Regions from separate parts of the Homo sapiens genome. Here all the other regions are linked to region 2. Evidence: promoter capture Hi-C in 16 types of primary human blood cells and fetal thymus (Javierre and others, 2016). All regions are on one chromosome and are shown on one strand. The core of a region is centred on a gene start or on the middle of the fragment in contact, and the rest is flanking DNA. Distances in the headings are between cores, read along the strand shown.

The links. The method cuts DNA at HindIII sites, captures the fragments that hold promoters and counts their contacts. A CHiCAGO score of 5 or more calls a contact.
Region 1: a contact is called between a fragment that was not itself captured here and the fragment with the promoter of HSPB8 in region 2, in 1 of 17 cell types (endothelial precursors). The highest score is 6.2, in endothelial precursors.
Region 3: a fragment that was not itself captured here is called in contact with the fragment with the promoter of HSPB8 in region 2 in 1 of 17 cell types (endothelial precursors); the score reaches 5.8 in endothelial precursors.

Annotation. Positions count from the first base shown.
Region 1 is chr12:118,403,973-118,407,323 of GRCh38, reverse strand. The region is part of intron 10 of SUDS3 (SIN3A corepressor complex component SDS3); the gene reads right to left. Among named protein-coding and RNA genes, the nearest start is that of SUDS3, 29 kb to the right of the region's middle. RefSeq lists an enhancer at 2,277-2,326. The HindIII fragment of the contact is 1,213 bases long and covers 774-1,986 here.
Region 2 is chr12:119,177,454-119,180,736 of GRCh38, reverse strand. HSPB8 (heat shock protein family B (small) member 8) reads right to left here and starts at 1,806. Exons shown (of 3, transcript NM_014365.3): 1 at 1,058-1,806. The coding sequence starts at 1,424. RefSeq lists an enhancer at 1,454-2,203. The HindIII fragment of the contact is 5,655 bases long and covers 1-3,283 here.
Region 3 is chr12:118,421,353-118,424,309 of GRCh38, reverse strand. No RefSeq gene overlaps it. Among named protein-coding and RNA genes, the nearest start is that of SUDS3, 46 kb to the right of the region's middle. The HindIII fragment of the contact is 916 bases long and covers 1,003-1,918 here.

The DNA.
Region 1 (3,351 bases), core at 131-2,630, 770 kb after region 2:
ACCGCAGTCTCTGAGACCTTCAAGGGATCCTCATGCACTACACGATGTCTTGGGGGAACCATTATCCCTAGATACCAAATCTATTAAATTATTTGAATTCTCTGAAAAGATAAGTCCTTAGATATTAAAGTGTTCAGGGCTCATACCTGTAATCCCAGCACTTTGGGAGGCTGAGGCAGGAGGATCACTTCAGCTCAGGAGTTTGAGGACAGCCTGGGCAACATAGCAAGACCTCATCTCTACTAAAAATCAAAAAAACATTAGCCAGGCATGGTAATGGAGGACTGTAGTCCCAGCTACTCGGGAGGCCAAAGTGGGAAGATCGCTTGAGCCAGGGGGATCAAGGCTCCAGTGAGCTATGATCACACCACTGCATGCCAGCCTGGGGGACAGTGAGACCCTGTCTCAAAAAAATAAAAAATGAAGTGTTCATATGGGGGGGCGGGGGCGGTTAAAGATGAAACCAAGAAGTATGTGACAACCTTAACATAAGAATTTACTTTTTAATTTCTAAAGAAAAATCAAAGGGGGGGGAAGAAATTTAAAAATATGTTTAGATATAAAATGTGCTACGAAGCAACATCAACAGGGTAGTAAAAATGTGCGTTTTTTTTTTAGGCCAATTAACCTGTTTTACAAGCTGCAACTCAGCTGCTGAAAAAAGATATTTAAATAGCCTCAAAGACTAAGCCCCAAATGTCAAACTGACTCTATTACTTTGTAACTAATGGAAATTCTGACCTGGGAATCTCTACAATTAAGTTCTTAAAGCTTTGAACCTCTACTATTAAACCGAACAAAACTAGAAATTACCACTACTGTACTATTTTCGAAAAGCAATTTCTTAAGAAGGTGGACACAAAAGTGGGGCGAGGAGGTAGGAAAATTAATTTAATTTTGTATCCTACTGAGAATCCTGGTATTAACACTTTATTTCCCCAATAAGTGAGTCCACGTTATAGCTACAGAACCTCAAGGAGTCCCAATTCTACTGGTAAATATTCACTGTTTTAAGTCTTTTGTGTCGACCGAAGGCTGAAGGGGAAAATGCTCTTGAGCAAGTGGGTGGCTTCGTTTCTGACTCACAGGCAGCCCCAGATTTAAAACAAGGAGAGAAAAACAGAAGTCCACCCGTACCATCAATTAGTTATTTTCAAATATCAGCTACTTTTTCACAGTATTTTTTGAGAGATCATTAGTCCAAATCAAAATGTGAGGCAAATTTACATAGCATGATATAGAATGCCTTAAAAGCAGTATAAGACCAAGGCAAAGGGAAGATCCTTATCTTTCAAAATGAAAGGGAGCTTGGCAAGTATTCACACCAAGATGCGATGCCTGAATCCCATTTGTTTTGCTGAAGTCATTTAAAACTCAGGAAGACATCTTCTGCCAAAAATACGGCTGCACCAAAATACTCCATACCCTCTGGAAAGAGCATAAAGCAATGTAGCTGACCTCTCAGCCACAGGCCACGTCTGCCAAAGAAAGAAAAACAAAACCTCCAAACTGATACAAAAGCCAAACATGAGCCTGGTGAGATGGGAGAGGCTGGCACTGCACCAGTGAACACCTCAGCCAGTATTCCCAGGAACACTTTTCAATTGTCATTGGGGAAGAGGGAGACCCACCTTCAACAACTGCATTATGATCTCTGACTGCCAAGGCCAAAAATGAAAAGTATACAGAATAGAGAAAAAAAACAACATTCTCAAAGTATATTTAACAAGAGAATAAGCAATTTCAATTTCACTGAAAAAGTAAAATGCATCCAGTGACATTATTTTCTAAATTTCTGCTGTTAATGTAAGAAAGATGGTGAAAATTCCTTCAAAATGCTTAGGAGTTCTAACACATCAAATCTGATCATTTTGTTTACATTAGGAAACACCAGACATTGTGGATCTCTTCTTTAAAAAAACAAGAATTTTATTTTACTGCATTTTCACCCTCAAGACATGTCTCGTAAAGTCTGAGGATTAAGCTTAGAAAGAGGAAGATTCAAAGCAACACAATTACAAAATGAACATCACTGGAAATATCACATGGCTTTAAGACTCATAGATTTGTAAAAATGTTAGTGATAAATCTCATCATTTTCAAAGATGGTTCTTATGTGTGGGCTTGATCTTTAAAGGTTATTTGGTTTTCATTATTAGAAACATTTTTCATCTCATTTTGCCCTTCTCAGTGTTAAGCTGTTAGAGCCTGCCACCTAGTGGCGATGTGTTCTGAGACATAATGTTAAGATATAACACAAACCGACCTTTCTGAAGAATGCCAAAGAACACCAACTCAGAGGGGAAGAAGTCATCAAGATCAGCCTTAGAGATAAAGCCAGCCTCCAGCATCTACTGGGCAATTAACTCACTGCAACTTAATAGGTGGAAATGATTTACTTCGGCCATGACTAGAACCCTAAGCATTTTTGACAAGTACAATGTTATCGGGTAACCAACCTAACACAATGCTGGGTTTTTTTAAGAATTCAAAATAAATAATCATTACCCCAATTTTGGAACTTTTGGTTAGATACTGAAACTCAAAGGGTCATTATATAGCCATTATAAATGATAATGAGACACCTTACAGTAACCCAGAAAAACATTCTCAATATAACCAAACAGAAAGGCAAAGCAAACCGTATGTCCACTATGCCTTAGAATGAATAGACTATGCCTGCATATGGATAAAGAATAAAAAGAAATATATCAGAATGAAAAGACCTGAGAAATGATGGCAGTATCCATTTCATATCTAGCAGAAAGCGTAATACAGAACAGAAGAAATGTTTGTTGAATGAACAAAAGTATGAGCTTTTAAGGTTCTTTCATACTGTTTTGCCATTACCTTTCCAATGAAAAATGCTAGGCGGTCTGAACGTTTCAAAGAGTCTTCAATGTAAACCAGGAATGCAGGACACAGTGGCTCATGCCTGTAATCCCAGCACTTTGGGAGGCCAAGGCAGTAATATCATGTGAGGTCAGGAGTTCGAGACCAACCTGGCCAACATGGCGAAACCTCGTGTCTACTAAAAATACAAAAACTAGCTGGGCATGGTGGCGGGTGCCTGCAATCCCAGCTACTCGGGAGGCTGAGGCAGGAGAATCGCTTGAACCTGGAAGGCGGAGGTTGCAGTGAGCCGAGATTACGCCACTGCACTCCAGCCTGGCGACAGAGCAAGACTCCGTCTCAAAAAACAAAAAACAAACTAGGAATGTTTTAGGATACAGTTCCCCCAAGCAAGTGTCCTTGACCACTTTTGCAGCTGGATCATGTAAGAAAAAAGGGTATGTGTCATCAAAAAACATCTAATAACATCTTAGAAATTCACAGTGTACATTAGCATAT
Region 2 (3,283 bases), core at 557-3,056:
TTAATCAGGAGGGAAGGAAAAGAAAGATTTTTCTACTGCCCAGCTTCACAGGGGCTGAGCTTCCTGTCTTCTCTCATTTTTCCCCCTAGTATGTTTATTTCTCCCAGGGTGGGATGCGGCAGTGAGAGCCCTGGGCCTAAAGCTGTGCATAGGCCCAGTCCCTACTCCACTCCTATTGCTGACTCATGGCATGACTGTGAACGAGTCCCACCTAGGCCTCAGCCTCCTCAGCTGCAAGATGGGCCTACCCTGCTACCCTGGAGTGGACTGAGGATGATTTTGGAGAAGTATAAGAATGTCAGCCCACCCTTGGCACCTAGTAGGTGCTCAGTAAATCATCACTTCTTCTTTCTGGCCTCCTAATTCCCAGACAACCTGGGTCTGACTCCTTGGTGGCCTTGAACAAGTTACTTTAATCTCTCCGTGCCTCAGTTTCCTCATCTGAAAAAAGAAGATAAACAGTACCCACCTCCTCTGGTTGTGGTATTAGCTGAGATATTATAGGCAACAGCAGTTAGCAAAGTGCTGAGCGAATAGTTAGCACTCAGAGTTACCAGTTAGTGTTACTACAATTACTGGTAAGCCTCAGTTTCCCTGTCTGGGACAAGGAGAGGTGTTTCACCGGAAACCAGTTGCGGTTATTAACACTATCATTGTTCAGCCTTAACGTGCACTTCTAGACTCTGTTATGATGCTGGAGTGCACAAAATCCCGTTTCTTCTTTGTTTTTTAATTCTTTGATATCTGCTTAACCTATTCTTTATATTAAATGCCCTCTGTCAAAATATCCAACATGGTTTCTATTTTCCTGTCTGTACCATGATTGATGAGCACCCAGAGGCCCCAATAGCTGAGTCAGGCAGGTTAAGATCTCTGCTGGGAGCCGGGAGAGAAGTTTTCCGTAAAGATAACTTTGCAGGCTGCATTCCTGAGCCCTGAGGTCACCTGTGTCACACTGTCCCAACGTCAGCTCCCAGGAAACTTTCTCTGGCTATTCCCAGGGCTGAGGGCTACATCCCGGCCTCCCCATTCTCTCTCCCTCCTGCCCCTGACTTACCAGACACCTCCACGTATCCATCTTTGGTCTTCACCATCAACTCCTCTGGCTTGAAGCTGTGCACATTCACACACACTTTCCAGGGCTCCCCAGGGAAGGGTGGGGGGGTCCTGCCCTCGGCAGGCACCCCAAACCTGGCGGTGGCAGTGGGGCCCCGGGGCACCATGCCCGACCTTAGGGTGCCTGGCCAGGCGGAGGAGAGACGAGGCAGAGCCCAGTCGGGCCAAGAGGCTGTCAAGTCGTCTGGGAAGGGGTCCATGCCAAAGCCATCATCCAGCAGGCGAGAGGAGAGGGGAGAGTCCCGGAAGGGGTCTCGGCGCAGGCGGCTTGGGTAGTGGCAGGAGAAGGGCATCTGACCGTCAGCCATGGTGGCTGCTCAGCTCAGAGAGAAACAGAGGCTCAGAGAGACAGAACCACCTGCCCAAGGTCACACAACAAGGTGGTGTGGCTGGGCTAGCTTATTCTTCAGCTTCCGAAAATGCTGCTTTTCTGCAGGGAGAAGCAGAACCAACCACTGCCAGGGACGGTTGTGTCCCCTCGACTGGGGTCCCAGCCCCCAAAGGTAACCCCCGGGGCAGATCCAGCAGAATCCCAGAGGGTCCCCGTCCGCACTGCCTCACGACAGACCGGCAAGCCACCGTCCTCCCAGGCTTCCCAGGCTGCCCAGGCTGGCAGCCAGAACCGCTGAGGTCTAGAGCGGAGCCAGGAGCTTAATAAACCCAGGGCACGCGCGCCTAGAAACTTCTTCTGGCTCCTTCTGGGCTGCAAGCCTTCTATTTATTTGCTGCTGGAGGCTGGAGGCGGGTTTTGCAAGCGTCTCCTGTCACAGGAATATTCGGAGGTGATGAACCAGCCCCGGAGAATCCGCGGAGGGAACAGCTGGGCTGTGGGGGGAGCTGGGAGGGGCCGCGTCCAAGTTCAGCCGGCCTCTCCGGACACTCTCTCCTCCCCTGGCCACTCCGCTCAGCTCCGCCCTCCTCTTGCTCCAGGAGCTGGAGCCGCCCTCCCCGAGCGGGGCACTAAGGCCTGGCTATTAATAACCCCGAGCCTGGCTGAGGGCTCAGGTCACCCTCTGGAAATACCTTCCCTAGAGCGTGTCGTATCCTGCCTTTCCCCTGGGGACCTGCAGAAAGGGAAGAGAGAGACAGGAGCCCAGTGGATTTGAAGGATGGCCCTGGGTTGCAATCCCCACTTACAAGATGGCCAAGCTCCTAGAGCCTCAATGCCCTCTGGGGAGATTGGTAAAGGAAAAAAAAAATTTTTTTAATGTGTATATATATATTCATATGACGCTTGTTAAAGTATGACAAGCAAGACTTTACTGGGCAGGGAAACTTTCTCCATAGATGTAGGGACCCCTGCAATGGGATTTTGCAGTGAGGGAGAAAGATTAGACTTGATTCCCAGTAGGTCATGGGTAAGTGTGAATTTGTAGCCAAGAAGCAGGTGGGGGGTCAGCGAATGGAAATTTACTAGGAGGGAAGTCCAGGAGTCAGAGGGATTCGGGCTCAGCTAACCTAAGAGGATTCTTGCTGAAGACAGGCCAGGGTGCTCAGACATCACCTGGGGGACCGCGGAGGATGAGGAAACTAATCAGATATCGAGGGTGATCAGAAATCGAAGATGGGTGGTTGCTACTAAACAGACTTAGCAGAGTTCATGCCAAAACTGAATTTTTCTTTCTTTCTTTTCTTTTTTTTTTTTGAGACAGAGTCTCACTCTGTCCCCCAGGCTAGAGCGCAGTTGCGCCATCTCCGCTCACTGCAACCTCCGCCTTCCAGGTTCAAGCGATTCTTCTGCCTCAGACTCCCGAGTAGCTGGGATTATAGGCACCCGCCATCGTGCCCGGCTAATTTTTGTATTTTTTAGTAGAGTTGGATTTCACCATCTTGGCCAGGCTGGTCTTGAACTCCTGACCTCATGATCCACCTGCCTCCACCTCCCAAAGTGCTGGGATTACAGACGTGAGCCACCTCGCCTGGCCCAAAACTGAATTTTTATAAGGAACCTCACTGATGGGCTTAGGAGAAGATTCAGAAATCCGATTAATGTTTGGTCAATCAAAGCATCTTTATAGGCAGTAACATTATTCCCAGGCACCTCCAGGTTGTTAGTTTTCCTCCTTATAAACGGACATAACAGTAGCCAACTCACAGATGTACCATGAAGAATACATGAGGTAATTCTCTTTCTCCTTGTATTTTCAATTTTGAGTTATCAATTACA
Region 3 (2,957 bases), core at 211-2,710, 760 kb after region 2:
GCAATCCCTGTGATAACCATGCCCACCCGGCACGGGCATGGTGTGGGCTACATTTTCTGTTTGTTTGGTTTTTGGGATGGGGTCTGTGTCTCCCAAGCTGGAGTGCAGTGGTGCGATCATGGCTCACTGCAGCCTCAACCTCCCGGGCTCAAGCAATCCTCCCACCCCAGGCCCTGAGTGGCTAGGACTACAGGCACACACCACCACGCCTGGATAATTTTCGTAGATACAGCATTTCATCATGTTGCCCAGCCTAGTCTCAAACTGCTGGGCTCAAGTGATCCTCCCACCTCAGCCTCTCAAAGTGCTGGGGTTACAGGTGTGAGCCACCACACCTGGCCAGGTTATATTTTCTAAAGCACTCAAGTGACCTACAGAGTTTGTTTGAAGCACAATAGTTATTATATTGTTTTGCTTGCATGACTTCATTTAATCTTGACAATAAACCTTGCTATTATTAGTCCCACTTTCTAGATGAGGAAACTGGAGCCCCGAGAGGTTATGTGATTTGCCTAAGTTCACACAGCTTGTAAGCAGCAGAGTTCAATCCAGATTCAAACCTGTCTCAAGCCCCTGCCTCTGAGTCTCACAACTGGATTTCTTTTCTCCATTTAGATTGTTGAATTGAGAGTTACAAGAACTGAGTTCTAGCTTGGCGTCTGTTTCCAGAAGCGAAAAATGGAAGGGGTTGGCTAAGATGACAACTAAGGGTCCTTTATGCTTTGGCCATCTACATTAGGAAGACAGAAGCCAAAGGGGAAAGGAAATGTGTGAACGTGGTGCAGAGGTGAACACTTCCCCTCCTCAAGCCTCATTTTCATCATCTGTAAAATGGAAATCACGAAGACACACATCACAGGGCAGTTTAGTATATTAAATACAATAATGTATAAAAAGTACTTAGCCCTCACCCAAACACATCATAAGTGCTCAATAAATTTGAGCCCTTATTCCTTCCTAATATGCCCGCAGGGCTCCACCAAGCTTGAATTCCCATAAGCTTTCACTTCTGGGAAGGTCAAAGAACCATGTTTGAGAGAAGAGGACTGATCAAAGTAGGAGAAAGGGAATCAGGTAAAATTACTGTCTAACAGGAATGTGTGCTGTTGCCCTTTATTGGTTTTACATATGAGTTAGCTTATTAATACTTTCAGGAGCATGTTAGTGTGAAATTGGAAAGCATCACTGCAGGTCAGCCATGAGCCACTGCACTGGTGACAGAAAGGGGAAGAAGAGCAAGCAGGGCAGGCACAGTGGGGAGAAGAAAGGAGAGAGGCAGAAAGGAAAGGAAGGCGAGTCCTCGATGGGAAAGGGCAAAAAGATAACCAAACAGGGAGCAAACTGGTTTTAAAGTTCAAGGCTTGTGGCCAGGCGTGGCGGCTCACGCCTGTAATCCGAGCACTTTGGGAGACTGAGGTGGGTGGATCATGAGGTCAGGAATTCAAGACCAGCCTGTCCAACATGGTGAAACCCCGTCTCTACTAAAAATACAAAAATTAGCCGGGCATGGTGGCAGGCACCTGTAATCCCAGCTACTCAGGAGGCTGAGGCAGGAGAATCGCTTGAACCTGTGAGACGCGGCGGTTGCAGTGAGCCAAGATTGTGCCACTGCACTCCAGCCTGGGCGACAGAGCAAGACTCTGTCTAAAAAAAAAGAAAAAAGAAAAAAAGTTCAAGGCTTGTGATGTATGTTAAACACACGCTACTATTTGACTTTAAACATGACTCATATCCACTTGTCTTTTTGCTCAAGCCATTTCCTCTGTATGGAATTCCCATTCTTGGTCATAGACACTGCTCAAGGCCTGCCTAGCTTTCTCTGAATCCCCCAAAAGAGCCTAGAACACTACCTAACATGCAGTAAAATTCAATAAATGGTTTTTGAATTGAATGCAATGACAAATGTGTTCCTCAAGCTTATGATTATTTACTATTTCAAGTAGATGAAGAAACACTCCAAACAACTGGCTGCAGGTGACCAAAAGATTATCATAGCAAAGTTCCCTGTCTTGTTTGGGATAAGAGTGAAGGTCTCCAGGGACCCGTTCTGTGGTGGAAACACTTTCTTCCAATAATAATGAAAACAAGAATAACAAGGAAAAATAAATATGTATTGCCTTTAGTCCCGGCTACTTGGGAGGCTGAGGCAGGAGGATCGCCTGAGGCCAGGAGTTTGAGGCTACAGTGAGCCATGATGGTGCCTGTGAATAGCCACTGCACTCCAGCCTGGGCAACACAGTGAGACCTCATCTCTAACAATGTGTGTATGTATATGTGTGTGTATATATACATGTGCATATGTGTTATATTACACACACACATATGTACGTGTGTGTGTGTATATCTATATACACAGAAAGGGAGAGAGAAAAGACTATGTCCCAAACACTATTTCTAAGTACTTTATCAATAATAAATTACTTAACCCTCAAATCAAATCTGTGAAAAAACAGCAGTTGTCACCCCCATTTTACAGTGGAAACTGGGTAGGGTGACCAACCATCCCAGCTTGCCCCAGTCTGACAGGGCTCCTGGGATACAAGACTTTCAGTACTAAAACCAGAAAGTCCCAGGCACACTGGGATGGGAATACCCTAACACTGAGGCACACAGAGACTAAGAAAATGTCCCAAGGTTAATGAGTGGCTAGGCCAGGATTATGAACTCAGGGCCTTCATCACCTCCACTGGGCAGGTACAGACAGAGGCAAAAATGAACCCATAGAACGATGGCAGTGTTAGGGTATTTCCATCCCAGTGTGCCTGGGACTTTCTGGTTTTAGTCCTGAAAGTCTCATATCCCAGGAGCTGTCCACTATGCTTTCCAGCACCCAGCCCGGCATAAAGAGGTCCTCAAATGATTGTCCTAACCATATTCCAGCTGTAGTACTGACTATAGCCCAGCTGTGGTACTGACTATAGCTCTAAGACCACAGGAAAGTCATTTAACATCTCTGG